Linked DNA regions of Homo sapiens: region 1 is linked to region 2. Evidence: promoter capture Hi-C in 16 types of primary human blood cells and fetal thymus (Javierre and others, 2016). All regions are on one chromosome and are shown on one strand. Each heading gives the region's core, a stretch centred on a gene start or on the middle of the fragment in contact. The rest is flanking DNA. Distances are from core to core; before and after follow the strand shown. Region 1 has its middle 65 kb from the start of XXYLT1-AS1. Region 2 holds the start of XXYLT1-AS1 (XXYLT1 antisense RNA 1).

Region 1 (5,729 bases), core at 2,299-4,798, 66 kb after region 2:
GTCCTGGAAGCAGCTTCGAGGAAATGCCCAGACCCCTGGGGGGTGATGTGGTGGCAAGGTGACAAAGGGGCAGGTCACAACGCTGTCACAAGCTGATATGCAAGAACTCACAGGCATGACCCCCAGGGGCTATGGGTGTAAGGGCATCTGCTCTGCCCTTTCCAGCGGGCCTAGTTTTGGTGGCCTCTGTTCCATTTATTTGCTTAGGAACACAAAGCTGAATGCACTGTTTGCAGGAAGTTGTATGTCTAAGTCACCTAAGTTAGTAAAATAAATAAAAACTTTGGAGTTTTGGAATGGCCTTCAGGTGCCTTCCACATCCATTTCCCTGGAAATCCCTGTTTCCTGTCGGTGTCTGATAAGGGATTTTTCAGGAATTGAGCGGAGCTTTTCCAGGAGATGTCACATAAGAAACCTCACCCTGGGTTCCCAAGGCCCAGTTACATTGTAGCTAAATCACAGATTTACCAAAGTATACAGGGTCCTCTTTCTTTACCTCCACCTGGACACTTTTTTGAAGGAAAATGGATTTTGGATGTAAGCGCCTCCGCGATTGTTCTATGCTCCCGGGGTCACAAGACTCCTTGAAAGCAGAGGTTCAGCAACCTCTAGCCAGGTTCCCCACACAGCTGGGGGGCTCTTCCCACCCTAAGGGGTGATCCATTTGCCAGGGAGACTTGGGACTGACTCAGCCCCTGCCCTGGCTGCCGAGGGACCCTGCCTTTTTCTGCCGAGCTTGTGCTTACGGGGAAATTCCAGGCTTCTCCGGAAACCATCTTAACTGCCTGGAATCCTCCTCTTGGACTTGTCTGGGCTGGCGCAGTCCTGGGAGGAAAGGAAAGTAAATAAATGTAAATCTGTTTGATCACAGACAGAGCATTTATCTTTCAATAGGAAGCTTCCTGAGGAAGGACAGCAAAGGGGTTTGGAATGAGTAAGCTCAAAGTATCAGCCTGCGTACAAGATGCCCTCGGGGGGAGCCTGGCTATTGTGGCGCTGCGGTCACACTGGGCCAGGCCCCTGCTGAGGCCCAGCACTGCACAGGCACCCGGAGCCCTGCCCTTCTCCCTCAGGGCACCCCAGGGCAGTACCGCCCTCTGGCCCAGCTGATGGGCCGGGCCAGGCTCCCCTGGCTTCCCAAGTGGAGGAGGAGGAAATGGTCTTTGCCAGCAGGCCAGCCACCCTCGAGGAGAAGTGGGGTCTTCTTTGGGGCTGTGGAGGCAGTGCTAGGAGTGGACGGAAGGGCTCAGAGGCCAAGCTCAGATGTTCCCTATGGCTGAGGTCCCTGACAAGGATCCTCAAACAGGGAGAATGCTGGTACCCTTCCAGTTTGGGCCTGGGTGTCACTTACCTGGGACACTTGTCACATCCCCTTTAAATCTCTGTCCTTGCCTGGCTCTGGCCAGAAACATTCCAGGGCTTGTTGATTCTGAAGAGCAGTAGGGTTTCCAGGGTTCTCTCCTGAAGCTCGGGGATATCCAGTGGCTTCAGGGTAAAAGCCTGTTTGCTAACCTGCTGCACAGCTGGTAAAAAGCCATGGGTCTCTCCCTTAAACCCAACCCAGCAGATGAGGTCTACTCTGGAGGCCCGAAAACACCTTAAACTCATCGCACAGAAAACCGGCGCAATACTTGGCCCCTCTTCCTTTTTCCCGACCTACAGTACCCCATCCTTCAACCCAGAGTACCCCATCCTTCGACCCACAGTATCCCATCTTTCCTTCTGCTGGATGTTGGAGGACTCAAAGTTATTCTAAATCTCTACAATACTCTTAACATTTTAAATCCAAATCCAGGCAATAATTCAATGTTCCAGCGATGTCCTTTGTGACCCATTCATTTCAGTTGATTTGGTTCTATTGATCCTTTTTTTTTTTGAGACAGAGTTTCGCTCTTGTTACCCAGGCTGGAGTACAATGGTGCGATCTCAGCTCACCACAGCCTCTGCCCCCGGCGTGAAGCGATACTCCTGCCTCACCTTCCCAAGTAGCTGGGATTACAGGCACGTGCCACCACGCCCAGCTAATTTTGTATTTTTAGTAGAGACGGGGTTTCTCCGTGTTGGTCAGGCTGGTCTCGAACTCCTGACCTCCTGTGATCTGCCCACCTCGGCCTCCCAAAGTGCTGGGATTACAGGCATGAGCCACCGCGCCCGGCCGATCCCTTTTTTTCATTTGTTCATTCATTCATTCATTCATTCATTCATTCATTCCAGACACATTACAGCCACAGAGGTGAGGAGGATTCAGGTCCTGCCCGCAGAGACAGTTGCACATACAGCCAGCCACACAAGGGGCAAGAAGTAGTCTGTGCTGGGCCACAGGGGCAGCTCTCAGGAGGCTCTGTATTGACTTCACGCCCACGCTGTGCTACATTCATCACAAATCTGACAGTATGCAACAAAAAGCAGGCCACAAAATAATGGATGGTATTAACAGCAGAGTCAAGATGTGGGAAAATGGAATAAAATGAGCTCTCCAGGTACCATCTATTTTTTAGAAAATGGAATCCATTCATTCAGGAAGCTTGATGGATAAATGAAGTAGGCCAGACAGGGAGAATACAAATAGCAGCAGCTCCTGTGGGAAGCCTGCCAGCCCCTCGCTGAGTGCATGATCTACACCATCACATCATCCACTGAACAGCCTGTGAAGTTGGTACTCTGATGATTCCCATTTTACAGATGGAGAAACCATGACACAGGAATGATGTGGCTGGCTTACAGTCACAGAGCTAGAGCCAGAACTCAAACCCGGGTCTGTCTCACTCCGAAGTTTCTGCTAATGACAGCATGGAAAAGATTCCTCATTTCCACCAGCTTCCTTTTAATCAAGGCAGATTAGACATTCATGCATTGGCTAATCTAGGCTTTGAGTGTAGTGACGTTTATGTAGTGCCTACAAAGCAAGATTAGCCATTACACGTTTTGTCGTTCTGGAAACTGACTCTTGGCAATTCCCAGCCAGGCTTTATCTCAACATACTTCCTGAAATCTCAGGCCATGTGTATTTTGCCTACAGAGTGGCTCTGAAAATAAAGTAGGCTGGAAGTCAGGTGACTGATGTCATCCTGGACTCGTAGGCGATTAACAGTATGACCTTGGAGAAGTCACCTTCCTCTGGTTTCAGTTTCCCATTTGAAAATGCAAGAATTGCAGCCATTCTACCACTAGGACTAGAAGAGACGTACCTGGGCATTAAGAGGCATGCTCAGTGGGAACAGAGGTGGGTGGATTGCCTGAGGTTAGGAGTTCGAGACCAGCCTGGCCATCATGGTGAAACCCCGTCTCTAGTAAAAATACAAAAATTAGCTGGGCATGGTGGCGTGCACCTGTAATCCCAGCTACTCAGGAGGCTGAGGCAGGAGAATCGCTTGAACCTGGAAGGTGGAGGTTGCAGTGAGCCGAGATCGCACCACTGCACTCCAGCCTGGGTGATAGAGCAAGACTCCATCTCAAAAACAAAACAAACAAACAAAACAAAACAAAAAAACTCACAGAAGCATGCCCAAGGATGCTCATGGCAGTGCCGCCTGTGAGCATGAGAAACGGGAGGCCACCTGTGAGAATGGAGAATAACCCTGGTGACCATATGTGGCAGCAGGTCTCCAAGTCAATCCCTGTGATCTCCACCTCCTGGCATCCCCCCAGTGTAGTCCTCTTCCACACTGAACCAGGGAAGATCTGCTTGACCAACAGCATATGGCAGAATTGTTACCAGTGGAAGGTTGGAAGGTATCTGAGTTACCAGCGGTGAATCCGTGTGGGTCTGCAGCAACCTCAATTCTTGCCTCCTCAGAAGAAAGAATTTGACTGACGGGCCTAAGGCTGAAAAAGAGAGGAAGGCAAGAGGAGGAGTGGAAGGTTTTTATAAAGCCTTTAGACCAGGAAAGAAAGTACACTGGGAAAAGACCCCAAGCGGGCGACGTCAGAACAAGTGCAGCGTTTAACCTTGATCCGAGGACTTTCTGGGCTGGCCCCTTTCTCGTGATTCTCACCTTAGGGTGAGCTGCCTGCATGTGCAGTGCCCTCCTTACCCTTACACAGTGTGTATAGGAAGTTGTACACATACCCACCTGAGGCTTTCTTCCCTTTTCTTGTGGGGTGCTCCCAGAGGGTCATACTCTGCCATTTTGTCTCTTAATGCACCATGCCTGGGAAGTTGTGTCTCCCTGGCACCTGCATTCAATGAACACTTTAGTGCAGCAGGTGTGGTCCATGAGGAAATGGCCTCTCCCTGGCACTGGCTGCCAATTTATCACTTTTAGAGAGGCAGTGTGATCATTGCCAAACCATCACCCAACATTCCCCCAGAGCCCTCTCCTGCCCTGCTCATGCCTGTCTCACTACCTGTAACAGAAGGAATGGCATGGCACTCCCGGGCTTAGTAAAACCTAAGCCGCTTCCATCTTGGGTTTTCTCTCTCCTTGCTCTTGAATCCCTTGCCCTGGGGAAGCTGCCTAGTTGTGAGCAGCCCTGTAGAGAGGCCCACGTGGAAAGGAATTGAGTCCTTTAGCCAACAGCCATGGGCGTTAGCCATCTTATCTGTGGATCCTTTAACCCCAATCAAGCTTTCAGATGACCACAGCCCTGCCAGCTCAGCTGCAACCCCACGACAGGCCCTGATCCAGAACCACCATGAGGGGCTGTTTCAGGGCTCCTGATCTCAGAATCTGTGTGAAATAATAAATTGTTTTTGTTTTAAAGCTGCTAAATTTGGGGGGTAATTTGTTATCCAGCAATGGATAACAAATACACCCCATACTATAGGATATTATGGAGCAAAGAGTGGAACAGGTCTATGTGTACTGATACAGAAAGATTTCTGAGATATGTGTTAAGACACCCTTAGAATGTGTTGTTAGAAAATAATAATTACAAAAAAAGATATACGGCTATATATCTTTTATGTAAAATACCACAACTCACTATACTTTTATGCATTTACATATGCAAGTAGATATGTAGCAAATTACCCATCATGTAGCAATGATGAACATCAATTTACCCTCAGTAAGAGAGTCAGAGGAAGGTGCAAAGTGGAATTTTCATTTTCTATTCAATAGATTGCTCTCTCTCTCTCTCTCTCTCTCTATATATATATATAATATATATATAATTTTACCATGATAATGTGTCAATGTATTACTTATACTCAATTTAAAAATTCTTTAAACGAAGGCATTTGAGTACTTGATCACTGAGGTCTCTTTCAACTCTGGTGTTTTATAGTTCTATTAAAATGTCATTGGAATGTAAATTAAAAGAATGGGATAACATTTATCACCTCTTTGTTGGAAAACATTAAAAGTTTGATAAACCAATGTTGGCAAAGATGTGCTGGGATTTAAGGGGAGGGCAGGGCTGGCCTTTGAATCCAGTTATATTGACTCCCAAATCTAGGGCCCTTCCTGTTATTTTACCTTTGTGCCTATAGTTTACATGCAGGTGTCTGTGTTAGAGGAGCTTGTCTCTGGTGGATATATATATGTATATATATATATTTTTTTTTTGAGACAGGGTCTCTCTCTGTCGCCCAGGCTGGAGTGCAGTGGCACGATCTCAGCTCACTGCAATCTCTGCCTCCCGAGTTCAAGTGATTCTCCCGCCTCAGCCTCCTGAATAGCTGGGGTTACAGGTGTGCGCCACCATAGCCTGGCTAATTTTTGTATTTTTGTATTTTTAGTAGAGATGGGGTTTCACCATGTTGGCCAGGCTGGTCTCAAACTTCT
Region 2 (6,012 bases), core at 2,700-5,199:
CTGTCTCCCAGGCTGGAGTGCAGTGGCACGATCTCCGCTCACTGCAAGCTCCGCCTCCCGGGTTCACGCCATTCTCCTGCCTCAGCCTCCCAAGTAGCTGGGACTACAGGCGCGCACCACCACGCCCGGCTAATTTTTTGTATTTTTAGTAGAGACAGGGTTTCAACATGTTAGCCAGGATGGTCTCGATCTTCTGACCTCGTGATCCACCCGCCTCAGCCTCCCAAAGTGCTGGGATTACAGGCGTGAGCCACTGCACCTGGCTCCATTTTAACCGTTTTGAAGTGTACAGTCACTGGCATTAATTCTATTCACAATGTTGTACAACCATCACCACCGTTTCTCGTATATGTGCATCACCCCAAACAGAAACCCTGTACCCATTCAATAATAACTTCCCATTTCCTGCCTCTCCCCAGCTCTAACCTGCCTGTGAGCGTGCCTGTTCTTGGTATTTCCTGTGTGTGGAATCATGCACATTTGTCTCCTCCGCCACTCTCTGCTGCCCCTAGGCCCAGAAGCACACTGTTCCCCTCCCGACCCGCCCCACTGCTGGGACTGTGGGACTCTGTGGGTCCTTCCTTATTCACCACCACAGTACCTTCCATGAGCCTTTCTCGGTTCCCCTCCACCAGTCTCATCTTTTCTTTGTCCAGACATTTGGTTTGAAGCGTCTTTCCTGCCCAGCCTGACTTCTTTGTGTGTGCGTGGTGGGGGGGTGGGGGCATTTGTGTGAGGGTCTTTTCTCCACTCACACTCCCCCGGAGAATCAGAAGCAGTTGTGTGGTCCCAGCGGAGGTGCTCAGGGCTGGGTTTTATCTTGGCGACTGTTCACAGGGTGCTCGCCATGCACTGAGAGGCAGCCGAGGACAGTCTTATCAGTGGGGGCTCCAGGCCAGGCTGCCTGGGTTTAAATCCAGACCTCACCACTTACTAGCTGGGGGGCTTTGACTCAATTCCTTAACCCTTGTAAGCCTCAGTTTCCTTGTCTATAAAGTGGGGATCATGATAATAACAACCTCATAAGTTTATGAAAGCTGAATGAGGTCACAGATATAAACACAACAGTGCTTGCATGTGGTGGCACGTGGTGCTAGCTACGTGTTGATACGCATTTGCTGCTGTTGTAACCCACACGTGGTGCTAGATACGTGTTGATACGCATTTGCCATTGCTGTAACCCGCGTCACAAAGTTTAGTGAGGATGAAATCATTGATATAAATTGTTTAAAAGGTGACTGGCATTTAGTAAATGTCAGCTACAGTATATCTCTCTGTCTGTCTGTCTGTGTATGTATTCTTATGTCAAAACCAACTCAGCACTGAGCCTGCTTCCAAGAACTGTCTCCAACTTAAAGTTGCCAGCAGTCTGGTTGAGGGGACTGGGCCACACCAGCAGCAGATTAAAAATGAACCGGCCTATATGTCTTGTTCCTTTCTTCAAGACAACAGGGACATGGGAAGTCCCAGCAGAGGGACGCCAGGGGAGCCCGTCTGAGGGGTCTGCTGGGCGGGAATCAGAACAGCCTGCCTTTGCCCAGCGCTCAGCGCAGCCTGACCATTTTCACCCCTGTTGTTTTTCTTATTAAATTGGGAAACAAATTATACAAATTTGAACTATTTCTAACCTCCAGCAAAAGGTAGTCACATTCTATCTCAATTTGGAAGACTGAGTGGGCATTACTGTTGACGTGAGTACCTACAGTTTCAGTCAAGATTCTCATTTTTTTAAACCCATGGAAGAAAATTATCCTCTATGGAAACCAAGCTTTACAAAGCTTGTCTCTATGTTCTGATTTTAATTGCCAGTTGAAAGGAAAGCTCAGCCTTGCTTGTTAAATAACTGTGTAAATATTACCAGGGCACTGAGAAGGCCTGAGGAGGAGAAGGAATGGTTTCCTTGCACATCTGTGCCTGAGAAATGAAGACTCAGACTCACTTCTGAAGAAACGAGTTCAACTTCAGATGGGAGGTTGAACTCCATTTTCCCGAAGGCCGAGGAAATGTATGCGTGTGTGTGTGTGTATCGTGTGTGTTTGTCAGCATGTGCGTCTGTTACGTACACGTGTGCGTATGTGCATGTGTATTATGTAAGTGCACATGGGCATGGTCGTGTATATATACGTGTGTGTGTTGGGGACGCACTGGGAACAGAGCATGGTGTCTGCGTCACATGTTGTTTCTCCGCACCTGGAGGCCTCTGAGTGCTGTGTCTGCGCCACTGTCACCAGCCTCCCCGTCTGGCCACACAGATCCTCCTGCTGTGCATGGGCTGCAGCCATGCTAGAGGGACCCTCCAATCTCCCCTAGGTGGCCCCAGGCTTAGCAGGTACTCTATAAAAGTATGTTGAGACAGTGTACTTTTCTGCTTAAGGTCAAAGGGCTTTGCTTTTGTCTGTGTGTGGAGAGCCGTGGCGGCTGGGAGAAGGCTGGGTGGGTGTCCATAAACGCGTGCTAAGGATGGAGCCATCCATCAACCTTATTTCTCCTCTTGCCTTTGCTTAGACCATAGCGTGGACACTGCTATATATTACATATTGAATTGGGTTCCCGGAGCCTCTGGCCTCTCCCCGGAAACAAGTAAGACCTTCTCTGAAGCTGCTTGAGTTCCTGTGGGCTGGAAACAGGGCAGGGAAAGAGAGGTTTGCTAACTGGTTCCTTCCCAGCCAGATGTGGTTAACGTGGCCTCTGAAAGCACCTTACTCATCCCTGTTGAGCTGCTGACCTGCAGCTCCACATGTACCCACTCTGATTCACTGAGACTCACTCCCCCTCCAGTGAAGGCTGCCCCACCCGCAGATCAGGGGACCGCACGTGTTAGGGCCTTACCTAGGGTTCCCTGGCCACTGCCGCCTGCAGGCCCTCGCTTTGTTGTGGCTCTTCCCAAGAGTCATCAGGCGCTGTTGCTCACGCATAAGCACACAGGTGACAAAGTCCCCTGAAGAATTGCCCACCAGTGTGACCTGAACGACCCCTTTCCCCAACACCACACATGAGCACTCAAACTGGATGTGGAGGCCCGGCTGTAAGAGTGCCCATCTGCAAGGCTCAGCTCTAGGAGCTGTCCCCCTGCCTTCCCTGACCATATGGGGCACAGGTTCTGTGCTGGCCCCAGTCCCAGATGGTGGAAGGCAAGGAAGGAGAACCCACATCACCCACCTGCCGTGCACCGGGGGGTTCGCGTATGACTTTGTTTAATGCCCTGGCAGAGTCTTCTGAGGCATTACACTCACCACCGCCACAGGGAGAAGACTGGAGCAAGAGGAAGAGAATTTGCATTTGCGAGTGCACGCTGCGTTCCCGCGACAGCCAGACACTGCATTACCTCATGCAGCCCTCACGGCAGTCTCATGAGATGTAATGCTTAGTTCTGGTGGAGCTGGGGCCAGAACACACTTTCCCTGACTCAGAGTCCTCACTCTTACCTCCACCTTCTCACTACTCAAAAGTGTGGCCTGCAGACCAGTAGCGTTGGTATCACCTGGGGGCTTGTCAGCGATGCGGAATCCCAGTCTGCATTTTAACCAGATCCCGGACACACATTTCCCCCGCACAGTAAGGTCTGGGAAGCACTGCCCTGCATCTAGTAACTCTTATGTGAGAGAACCCTGGGAGGGGAGGTGGAGGCCAGTGGGGTTAGCTGAGAAAACCTTCTGGAGGGCCAGTGGCAGAGCTGAGCCACAGAACAGGTGCGTGGTGGAGCAGAGGCAGCATTTGCTAATCAGAATGGCATCTGCGATGCCTTCGCAGGCTGTGTGGAGAGGGGAAGGTGCGGCCTTGTGGCCCCTTGTCTGTGTGGAAGGGCAGGCGACTCTGTGGGGGAAGGGTGGCGTGGAGACGGGAAGCGTGATTACCCACACAGGCCTCGAGCACCCGCATCCAGGGACCACGGCCGCCAGGAGGGGCTGGACTCTCTCAGGAGAAGCGTGCGTCTGGGAATCCCCGCTGAGGGGGCTTGTGAATGTGGGATCGAAGCGCTTAGATCTTGGCTTCCGGAGGTCTCCGCGGGTGTCCAGCTTTGTACAGGGTGTGGGGATGAGTCTGCCGACCGGACTCCCATGTCAGCTTTGTGTCTGGACAGAACAAGGGGCGAGGAAGCCTGGTCGGGCCACTCTGGGCCTGCATGCGTGTGGGCAGGTGTCTGTTGGTCTTGGGCAAAGGGCGAGGTGACACTGAGGGCGTGAGGGAGGAGGCCCCAAGAGAGCAGGGAAGCGTGGAAGATGCCAGCTGGCCTGGGGGCGTGGATGTGGGTTTCAGCAGAGTGCAGACAGGCAGTGGGGCGTGGGGCCTCCTTGGGGCCTCGCTGGGCTGTGTCGGGTGCTTGCTTTCTTTTCTCCTTTGCCTCCTTCCAAGGTGCGTCCACAGCCAGCGTTTCTTTATGCTTTTCCCTCAGTCTGAGACCTAGGAACAGGAGAGGCCAGTGCTGTGAATTTCATGTTTCATGGCCTCCCCAGCAAGCCAGCCCACGAAATTCCACACAGGGAGGAGGAAGAGGAGGAGGAGGAGGAGGAGCTGCCACTGTCCCCGAGGGGAGCAGCTGACACTCTCCCCTTGACTGCACCAGGCCTTGGGGGTATGGCGCCTCCACGGACGTGGGCTGGGGGAGGATAGGCTCCTAATTAGTTTGGATGCGCTTGGAGTCAGGGCACCTTTTCCCCAGTGGGCAGTTCTGCACCCTGAACAGCTGTGGGGAGAAGGGCAGCGGGAGGACGGCCAGATAATTCCAGAAGAAAGGCTCCAGGAGTGGCAGCAGAACTGCTGTTATTTTCGGAGGAGTCTAATTACTTTCCCCAGGTAATGGCTTGAAGTAGCATCTAATTTTATTTATTTATTTATTTATTTATTTTTATTTTTTTATTATACTTTAAGTTCTAGGGTACATGTGCACATTGTGCAGGTTAGTTACATATGTATACATGTGCCATGCTGGTGCGCTGCACCCACTAACTCGTCATCTAGCATTAGGTATATCCCCCAATGCTATCCCTCCCCCCTCCCACCACCCCACAACAGTCCCCAGAGTGTGATATTCCCCTTCCTGTGTCCATGTGATCTCACTGTTCAATTCCCACCTATGAGTGAGAATATGCGGTGTTTGGTTTTTTGTACTTGCGATAGTTTACTGAGAATGATGATTTCCAATTTCATCCATGTCCCTACAAAGGACAGTAACTCATCATTTTTTATGGCTGCATAGTATTCCATGGTGTATATGTGCCACATTTTCTTAATCCAGTCTATCATTGTTGGACATTTGGGTTGGTTCCAAGTCTTTGCTATTGTGAATAATGCCACAATAAACATACGTGTGCATGTGTCTTTATAGCAGCATGATTTATAGTCCTTTGGGTATATACCCAGTAATGGGATGGCTGGGTCAAATGGTATTTCCAGTTCTAGATCCCTGAGGAATCGCCACACTGACTTCCACAATGGTTGAACTAGTTTACAGTCCCACCAACAGTGTAAAAGTGTTCCTATTTCTCCACATCCTCTCCAGCACCTGTTGTTTCCTGACTTTTTAATGATTGCCATTCTAACTGGTGTGAGATGGTATCTCACTGTGGTTTTGATTTGCATTTCTCTGATGGCCAGTGATGATGAGCATTTTTTCATGTGGTTTTTGGCTGCATAAATGTCTTCTTTTGAGAAGTATCTGTTCATGTCCTTCGCCCACTTTTTGATGGGGTTGTTTGTTTTTTTCTTGTAAATTTGTTTGAGTTCATTGTAGATTCTGGATATTAGCCCTCTGTCGGATGAGTTGGTTGCGAAAATTTTCTCCCATTCTGTAGGTTGCCTGTTCACTCTGATGGTAGTTTCTTTTGCTGTGCAGAAGCTCTTTAGTTTAATTAGATCCCATTTGTCAATTTTGTCTTTTGTTGCCATTGCTTTTGGTGTTTTAGACATGAAGTCCTTGCCCATGCCTATGTCCTGAATGGTAATGCCTAGGTTTTCTTCTAGGGTTTTTATGGTTTTAGGTCTAACGTTTAAGTCTTTAATCCATCTTGAATT

Evidence for each region. The method cuts DNA at HindIII sites, captures the fragments that hold promoters and counts their contacts. A CHiCAGO score of 5 or more calls a contact.
Region 1: a contact is called between a fragment that was not itself captured here and the fragment with the promoter of XXYLT1-AS1 in region 2, in 1 of 17 cell types (endothelial precursors). The highest score is 6.3, in endothelial precursors.

The regions. Positions count from the first base shown.
Region 1 is chr3:195,026,272-195,032,000 of GRCh38, reverse strand. No RefSeq gene overlaps it. Among named protein-coding and RNA genes, the nearest start is that of XXYLT1-AS1, 65 kb to the left of the region's middle. RefSeq lists enhancers at 1-607, 608-1,605. The HindIII fragment of the contact is 2,044 bases long and covers 2,527-4,570 here.
Region 2 is chr3:195,092,525-195,098,536 of GRCh38, reverse strand. It overlaps XXYLT1-AS1 (XXYLT1 antisense RNA 1), which reads right to left and starts at 3,949. Exons shown (of 4, transcript NR_104188.1): 1 at 3,859-3,949; 2 at 3,160-3,252; 3 at 2,830-2,938; 4 at 2,480-2,617. The region is part of intron 3 of XXYLT1 (xyloside xylosyltransferase 1); the gene reads left to right. RefSeq lists enhancers at 2,365-3,564, 4,029-4,078, 4,149-4,318, 4,439-4,508. The HindIII fragment of the contact is 5,440 bases long and covers 1,781-6,012 here.